Regions from separate parts of the Homo sapiens genome. Here all the other regions are linked to region 2. Evidence: promoter capture Hi-C in human tissues and cell types (Jung and others, 2019). All regions are on one chromosome and are shown on one strand. Each heading gives the region's core, a stretch centred on a gene start or on the middle of the fragment in contact. The rest is flanking DNA. Distances are from core to core; before and after follow the strand shown.

Evidence for each region. The method cuts DNA at HindIII sites, captures the fragments that hold promoters and counts their contacts. A contact is called where the count stands out against the background at its distance.
Region 1: a contact is called between a fragment that was not itself captured here and the fragment with the promoter of MADD in region 2, in 1 of the 25 tissues and cell types used here (lymphoblastoid cells).
Region 3: a contact is called between a fragment that was not itself captured here and the fragment with the promoter of MADD in region 2, in 2 of the 25 tissues and cell types used here (IMR-90 fibroblasts and dorsolateral prefrontal cortex).

What each region holds. Positions count from the first base shown.
Region 1 is chr11:46,871,189-46,873,888 of GRCh38, reverse strand. It overlaps LRP4 (LDL receptor related protein 4), which reads left to right. Exons shown (of 38, transcript NM_002334.4): 29 at 296-514; 30 at 655-789; 31 at 2,256-2,364. It overlaps LRP4-AS1 (LRP4 antisense RNA 1), which reads right to left. Exons shown (of 3, transcript NR_038909.1): 3 at 1-815. Among named protein-coding and RNA genes, the nearest start is that of LRP4-AS1, 26 kb to the right of the region's middle. The HindIII fragment of the contact is 4,299 bases long and covers 1-2,700 here.
Region 2 is chr11:47,268,785-47,271,484 of GRCh38, reverse strand. MADD (MAP kinase activating death domain) reads right to left here and starts at 1,352. Exons shown (of 37, transcript NM_001376571.1): 1 at 1,239-1,352. It overlaps NR1H3 (nuclear receptor subfamily 1 group H member 3), which reads right to left. Exons shown (of 10, transcript NM_005693.4): 10 at 2,452-2,700. MADD-AS1 (MADD antisense RNA 1) reads left to right here. Exons shown (of 3, transcript NR_120569.1): 2 at 344-406; 3 at 505-828. RefSeq lists enhancers at 1,293-1,587, 2,061-2,170 and silencers at 1,061-1,590, 1,801-1,910. The HindIII fragment of the contact is 15,703 bases long and covers 1-2,700 here.
Region 3 is chr11:46,830,818-46,833,517 of GRCh38, reverse strand. All of the region lies in intron 1 of CKAP5 (cytoskeleton associated protein 5), which reads left to right. Among named protein-coding and RNA genes, the nearest start is that of CKAP5, 14 kb to the left of the region's middle. The HindIII fragment of the contact is 9,291 bases long and covers 1-2,700 here.

The sequences.
Region 1 (2,700 bases), core at 98-2,597, 400 kb after region 2:
CCAAAGGTATGTGGGGAATGATAAACTTGTCTTCTAGCAAGACATCCCCTGGCAACCGCCACTATGTCCAGTTAGCAGGAAATACTGTGTCCTCCTAAGAACTGGTTCCTTCATTCTGCAATTATTTTATTGAACATCTATCATGCTGGGTGCTGAGGAATGTACTCATAGATACCTGGTCTCTATCCCTGTGGAGCTTACAGTTCAGTGGGGTCCAGTTATGGGAACATGGGTTAAAGTTCTACTCTATTCTGGGTCAGTCTGGTTGCTCATCCAACACTGGGCTCTCCCCAAGGCGAGCAGACCTGAACGGCAGCAACATGGAGACAGTGATCGGGCGAGGGCTGAAGACCACTGACGGGCTGGCAGTGGACTGGGTGGCCAGGAACCTGTACTGGACAGACACAGGTCGAAATACCATTGAGGCGTCCAGGCTGGATGGTTCCTGCCGCAAAGTACTGATCAACAATAGCCTGGATGAGCCCCGGGCCATTGCTGTTTTCCCCAGGAAGGGGTAAGTTTATGGCCAGCAGAAGAGAGATCCAGGGAAGAAGGGCTGGGTGGAAAGATGGTGTTAGTGGGTCCTCTGTGTTCTCTCAACCTCTGGGTGCTGTCTTCCCATGCCTTGATGATGATGGCACTGTTGTGTCTCAGGTACCTCTTCTGGACAGACTGGGGCCACATTGCCAAGATCGAACGGGCAAACTTGGATGGTTCTGAGCGGAAGGTCCTCATCAACACAGACCTGGGTTGGCCCAATGGCCTTACCCTGGACTATGATACCCGCAGGTGGGAGTCTTGCATCAAACAGCCTCCTGGAAATCGGGTGGGCAGAAGAGAGAATGGTTGAGATTAACCTTGGAAAAATGAAAAGATAGAAAGCTTCTTGGTATGTGGGGAAGAGGAATCATTGAGAAGGATAAGGGAATATATTCTTAGAGCAGCGATTGCTAAATCCAGCCCTCAACCCTTATGTGGGTTTTGTTTGGCTGGTTTACATGTTCCTAATTTGAGTGCCTTTGGCAGAGCATGTCTTCTGGCTGGACCACAGGTCTCACACCCCTACTCATTTAAGGGCTGATTCTTATATTTGTTATAATATAACAAATCCTGATCCCTTCAGGCTCTGGAACTTTGTTGTTGTTGAGACAGCATCTTGCTCTGTTGCCCAGGCTGGAGTGCAGTGGCGCAGTCACAGCTCTCTGCAGCCTGAACCTCCCTGGCTCAAGCCATCTTCTTACCTCAGCCTCTCAAGTAGCAGGGACTATAGGCACATGCCACCATGCCCAGCTAATTTCTAAATTTTTTGTAGAGACAGCATCTCGCTATGTTGCCCAGGCTGGTCTCGAACTCCTGGACTCAAGCAATCCTACTGCCTTGGCTTCCCAAAGTGCTGGGATTTCAGGCATGAGCCACCACGCCCGACCCAGGCTCCGGAATGTACAACTCCTTGTCTAGATAAGAAATGCTAAGGGCAGGGGGAAGGGGCTCTAAAGCAGTCTGTGCCCCCTTCTGATCCAAAAGAAGGGGAAGGGAATCCAAGACTTCTGGAAAGGTGGTAGAATGCCTTCTTCTTTTAACCTCAGCAAGGTCCATGTAGACTGGGCTCACTTCCTTTTTTGTTGTTGTTGTTGAGACAGAGTCTAACTCTTTTGCCCAGGCTGGAGTGCAGTCGCACGATCTCGGCTCACTGCAACCTCCGCCTCCTGGGTTTAAGCCATTCTCGTGCCGCAGCCTCCCAAGTAGCTAGGATTACAGGCACGTGTCACCACGCCTGGCTAATTTTTGTATTTTAGCAGAGACGGGGTTTCACCATGTTGGCCAGGCTGATCTCGAACTCCTGACCTCAAGTGATCCCCCGCCTCGGCCTCCCAAAGTGCTGGGATTACAAGCGTGAGCCACCATGCCCGGCCGAGTGAGCTCTCTTCTTAAAGACCATTTGTAAGAAATTGGGCTTTGATTATTGGGTAGGAGTCAAAGGGCAATCAAATTCCTGAAGATGAGGCTGGGTGGTGGTTCCTCTGAGGTCACTAGACTTTCTATGCCTCCCCAGAGCAGCCCTGACCTCCCCACTCATGAACCACCAGCTCCCTTCTTCAGCTTTGGGACTCACAATGACCCCTCATCGAGGGTGCTTCTTGAGTTCTCATAGCATCTGCCAGTCAGCTCAGGAGGGGACAAACAGGTTCATAGGGGGAAGAGCTGGGCTCCCTGGCAAGCGTTTGGAGCAGCCACTCTTTTCATTTTCTTCGCAGGATCTACTGGGTGGATGCGCATCTGGACCGGATCGAGAGTGCTGACCTCAATGGGAAACTGCGGCAGGTCTTGGTCAGCCATGTGTCCCACCCCTTTGCCCTCACACAGGTACTGGCTCAGGAGAGAGGTAACTAAACCTCCTTGACTGGGATGTTTCTTTGGGGTTCTAAGTCAGCAGTCTCAGCTATAGCTGCTACTGAACAGACGTGCTATTGCAGCTCATTTTAGGGATTTTTCCTGTGCCCTGAAGCCTTGGTAGGTTGGTAGGGCCACCGAGTGCCTTGCTACTCTTATCCTGCCATTCCCATGTTCTAGCATTCAAAGGAGTGGCTCTCAAAGAGTGGTATACAGAATCCGATATGGTGCTTGTTAAAATGCAGGTTCCTAGGCCCTGACTATAGAGATTATAGAGAAGCTGCTTCATGAGGGCTGGGCACAGTAAAA
Region 2 (2,700 bases), core at 103-2,602:
TCACAATCATTTCCTTCCAGAGCCACAAGGACCCTGAGATCTTGTTATTATTCTAGCTACGGGTGGTAGGATAAATTTTTAGCCAGAGTTCACATCTGATCAGCAGCCACTGCCTTCAGTTATTCAGATTGCAAAGATAACTAAGATTTTCCTTCTCATTCTCTCCTCTCTCCCCTCCCCAAAAAGACTAACACCTTTAACTCCTCTAAAGACTAAATCCTCTAACATCACCCACAACTCACACTCTTGTCTTCACAACCAACGAGGCTCCGACTCTGCCTCTTGCCTCAACCATGTTTACTAACGTAGAGCCTCTGGTTCCTATCTTCCTGTATTCCAAAAGCATCCAGCTCAAAATGCATATCTATCTGCTGAAGTCCGACATCACCATCAGCTCCACCCAGAGGTAGATTTAGGATTCACAAACTTTTAAGTTATCTATGCCTTTTCAGCAGAAATAGCCATGCTAACCAACCCTTTGGATTCGTCCCTCATTTTGGACAGGATCTCACAGTAAAACCACAGGAACCAGAGAGCGATATGACATCTCTGCTGACGTGAACACAACAGGAGGCTCTCCTCCCCTCCTCTACCTCCCCAGGCAGTGACCTTGCAAGCTCATCAGCACAGACTGGTCCAGCGTATGGGAGAACTGGAGCAAGGAGGCTGGCAGCTGGCAGGGTTGGGGTAGAGGGGAGGGCAGGGAAAGGTGGAAGAAGGTAGATACACGAGGATGGGGAGGAGAGCGATTGCAGAAAGATGAAATGGTGTTCTCTCTCCAGCAAGTCAATTTTGAAATATCAAGTTAAAAAAAAAATTTCTTGAGAACCAAACGTGTTTCTCCAAATTCTAGCCAAAAATAAGGCGCAAGCACGCACACGCACAAGCACACCCGCCAAGCGCTGTGCGGGTTCGGCCCCAGGGCTGGCCAGCTCTGCCCGCCCCCTCACCTGCTGGACAGTTCTCCCCCGCCCCCGCCCCCGCCCCGAACCTGAACCCGAGCCGCCCGCTCGGCAGGAACCAAGCCCAGTAGCCTGAGCCCCCTCCTCTGCCCGGGGCGCCCCCATCCCCGTCCCCGCCCCTCCTCGGCAGACCCCCGTCCCCACGCCCCTTCACACTCCCCCAGGGCCTCCTGAGAGACCCCTTCCTCCAAGAGCCACGGTGTCCTCTCAGAGCCCGTCTCCCGCTCGGAGTCCCCAGACGCTCGCCCAGGACCCCACCGGCCCAGACTCTCCTACCTCCCAAGCTCTGGGGGACTGGCCAGGCCCAGCCCGACGTCCCCCGGCAGCGGGGCGTCAGTCGCTCCCCAGCGCGGCGCCGCTCCGAGCGGGCGCCAGTTCCGCGTCTGCACTGGGGGGCACGCACCACTCGCGCGGGGTGCGGAGGGGGAGGCCGGGGCCGGGGCCGTACCATTCAGCCCGGGGGGCCGGGGCTGCACCGAGCCGAGCGCCGCGGGGCGGGGCCGACCTCGGGAGACAGCGGCTGCGCACAGACCTAGCCTAGCGCCCGTGGGCGCGGGAGGGCGCGCCAGGCCGACCCAGCGCCGTCGCGTGCCAAGTGGGGGACCCACAGCAGTACCTTCTGTTTGGGTTGCTCAGAGAGACTCTCACCCGACGGGGTCATAGCGCCCGTTTCGACGACATGGGGATTCCTCTGAAAGTCACTTCCCAAGATAATCGGCCCCTGAGACTTCCTGACGGGCTCCCCATCCCCCAGTCCCCACCCCCCACTCACGCGCTTTGGCGGTGCTCGGCGTCCGAGCAGGGAAGCCGGCTGCCGAGCGGTGGAGCCTACCAATCCTGGGCAGCGGGGGCAGAGGGGGGCGCGCGGCCGCGGTTACCTCCACCGGGCGCGCGCGGGGAGTGGGGGGGCGTGGCCGCGCCGCGGCGCCCGCTGGGAGATGGAGTCCAGTCAGTCCGCGAGGACAGCCCCGCCTCAGGACATCCTCCCCGCGGCCACACGGCTCTTCTCTTCCTGTCCCAAAGGGCCTGGGGACCGACACTGGGTTCTAGGTCTTTCAGGTTGTGCCTTTTTCAGATGCCAAAGGAAAAACCAAGGCATGCTACACATGCACGTGAGGTGCACCGCCGACGCCTTAGCGCTGAAATCCAACACTTCCTCCTCCACCGCAGAAAGGCAACCGGATCCTACCCGGATCCCAGCAGGGGAAGGGGGCGCCTAAGCCTCAGCATTCCATTTACCCATATGGCGCAGTGGGGGTTAGTAAGAAGAGGCCCCCTCTCACGGCCAAGGCTGTCATTTGTGACTCTCCCTCCTCTGGGCCTGGAGGCGGATCCTAAAGATCGCAGGCTTCCTCCTCTATTACCGTGTCCCCACCCCCAATCCAGAAATTGGTTTCTCTCATTTTGTATTCATTTTGATCTTCCTGTTCAAACAGTACCAGACCTATCAGTGAGGCGGCGCTGAGGCATTTATGGCCATACCACAGAGTGACAGTGGAGAATTTTTCTTGGGGCCCTGTGGGAAAAACAGGAAGTGGTGGAGGCAGGATGGGCAGGGCTCTGGAGAACCCTGTGCAAAGTGGCCCCCAGGCCCATCCGTTTGTGGGGTCAGCATGATCTTCAGACACAGCACAGTGTTAGCGAGGGCTCCACTGCTCAGTAGCCACAAAACTCGCAACCCTTTGACTCTCTTTTAATGCCACGGGAGGATCTCCTTGCCCAGCTCCCAGGAATGTTT
Region 3 (2,700 bases), core at 108-2,607, 440 kb after region 2:
ACAGAGCCAGACTCCGTCTCAAAACAAAAAAAAAATTAATAATAATAACAATAATATAGTAATGATAGCTGTGGTTTACTGAGTGCTTGGTGTTTGCCATGAAATCTGTTAATACTACTACTTACTTGCATAAAATCCACTGGATTTGTTTAATTTGACCCTTTCCAATCAGCCTTTCTCTTATTTGGTCACATGGGTCATATTTTTGTTCTTTACTCTTGCCTGCATCTTTTAGAGATCCACACACATGCCTGAAACATTCTCTGTTGTCCCTACTTTTTGCCTTTGCTTGGATAACCCCTATTAATTTCATTTAGTTTTCAGCCTGAGTATCACTTTCACAGGGAGACCTTCCCTGAACCCCGCTGCCCCAGTCTAGATTAGATTCCTCCGTCATACTCTCTTATTGTACTTTGCCTCAGGGCTATTGTGGTGCACAGCCTATACTCAGCATCTAGATGAGCATCTAACACCGAATAGCCTCACACTATCTGACAAGCACAGTTGTCAGGACAGGAGAATAATGTGAATATTTGTGGGAAAAAAAATTTTTTTTTTTTTGAGATAAACTCTTGCTGTGTCACCCAGGCCACAGTGCAGTGGCTCAATCATGGCTTACTATAGTTTCAACCTCCTGGGTTCAAGCAGTCCTCCCACCTCAGCCTCTTGAGTAACTGAGACTACAGGCGCATGCCACTACACCTGGCTATGGAGGGAATTCTTAACATGTAAAAGGCAAAATCTCATTTAATCTTTACAACAATGATTAGATGAGTCATGTTAGGCAAGTTACTCTGTTTGCCTCAATTGCCTCATTATTAAATAGGGATAATAATATCAACTTCAAGGTTTTAAGGATTAAATGAGTAAATACATGTGAAGTGCTTAGGATAGTGCCTGGCACATAATACGTGTTCAAGAAGTGTGTGTTAAATAGGGAGCAACATGAAGATGGTATTGTTATGATGATTGATAAAACTGAGGATCAGCTGGTTTGTGGCAGAGCAAGGTTTACAACTCAATCTGTCTACCTCCAGAGCTCAACATGACTCCAGGTTTGCACTAAATTTAATCTAGAGTAGAGCTTTCTACAGTAAGATTTCTTTCAAGCAACTGTTTTACTGCCATGGCTTTGCCAAAGTGAAAGATTCTAAAAATGAAATTACCCTCTTTTAGTGGATCTTATAATAAAAAAGTAACTAACTAGGAAAATAGTGGCAAAAATCTTAGAAAATTTCAAAATAATATTACTGAGTGATTTTTTTCACTTTGAAAAGGGTTTACTTCAGAATTTTATTAAATATATATTGTTTTCTCAACACATTTGAAATACACATTCTACAAAATTTTCTTTATAAGACCAGGCGCAGTGGTTCATGCCTGTAATCCCAGCACTTTGGGAGGCTGAGGCAGGCAGTTCACTTGAGTCCAGGAGTTCAAAACCAGCCTGGGCAAGTGGTGAGACCCCATCTCTACAAAAAGTAAAAAAGTTGGGCATGGTGGCAAACACCTGTGGTCCCAGCCACATGAGATGCTGAGGCAGAAGTTTTGCCAGAGCCCCGGAAGTCGAGGCTGCAGTGAGCCATGTTCCTGCTACTGCACGCCAGCCTCAGTAACAAAGCAAGACCCTGTCTCAGAAAAAAAAAAAAAAAAAAAGGATAAGTTTATTGTATATTTAAGACTTCTGACTGGGTGGGGTGGCTCGCAAGTGTAATATCAACTCTTTGGGAGGCTGAGGCAGGAGGACTGCTTGAGCCTGGGAGTTCGAGACCAGCCTGGGCCACATAGTGAGACCCTGTCTCTACAAAAAAATTTAAAAATTAGACAGATGTGGTGGTGCATGCCCCAGTAGTCCTAGCTACTCAGGAGGCTGAGGCAGGAGGCTCACATGAGGCTGGGAGGATGAGACTAGAGTGAGCAGTTATTGCACCACCATACTCCAGCCTGGGCAATGGAGCAATACCCTGTCTCAAAAAACAAAAAACAGAAAGACTTCTGTGACTTGATGAAATGGTGCCATTTTAGAAATTTTACACTAGAGCACAAAGCACTATGCAATGCTGGGATAATGAATAAGACTCAGTTCCTTCTTTCAAAGGAGATATCATGTATACAAAAAATGTTAAGAGAGAGAGTGAAGTGTAGCCTATGGGATGAGTATAGGCAGATGATCCAACTTCAAGCCTCTAAGTGGGAATTTTAAAGTTTTAAAGCTTTTAAAAGCATTATTTATCATCTAAGCGGGAGTTAAATAAAGAAAAAGTAAATGAAAAAAATTTAATAATATAAAAAATACAAAAACATTATTATAAAAGATGCTGAAGCTCATTATTAAAAATCAGAAGGCATGGATGGGTATTAAAGTTCAAAGTAAAAGTTTTTTCAAAAAAATTTCTTTGCTTAACCCTTAGACACACTCTCAGAAGTCATGGTTAACAATTTTTTTCTTTTTTGAGACTGATTCTCACTTTGTTGCCCAGCCTGGAGTGCAGTGACGCGATCTCGGCTCACTGCAAGCTCCGCCTCCCAGATTCACGCCATTCTCCTGCCTCAGCCTCCCGAGTAGCTGGGACTACAGGCACCCGCCACCATGCCCGGCTAATTTTTTTGTATTTTTAGTAGATACATGGTTTCATCCTGTTAGCCAGGATGGTCTCGATCTCCTGACCTCGTGATCCGCCCCCACCTTGGCCTCCCAAA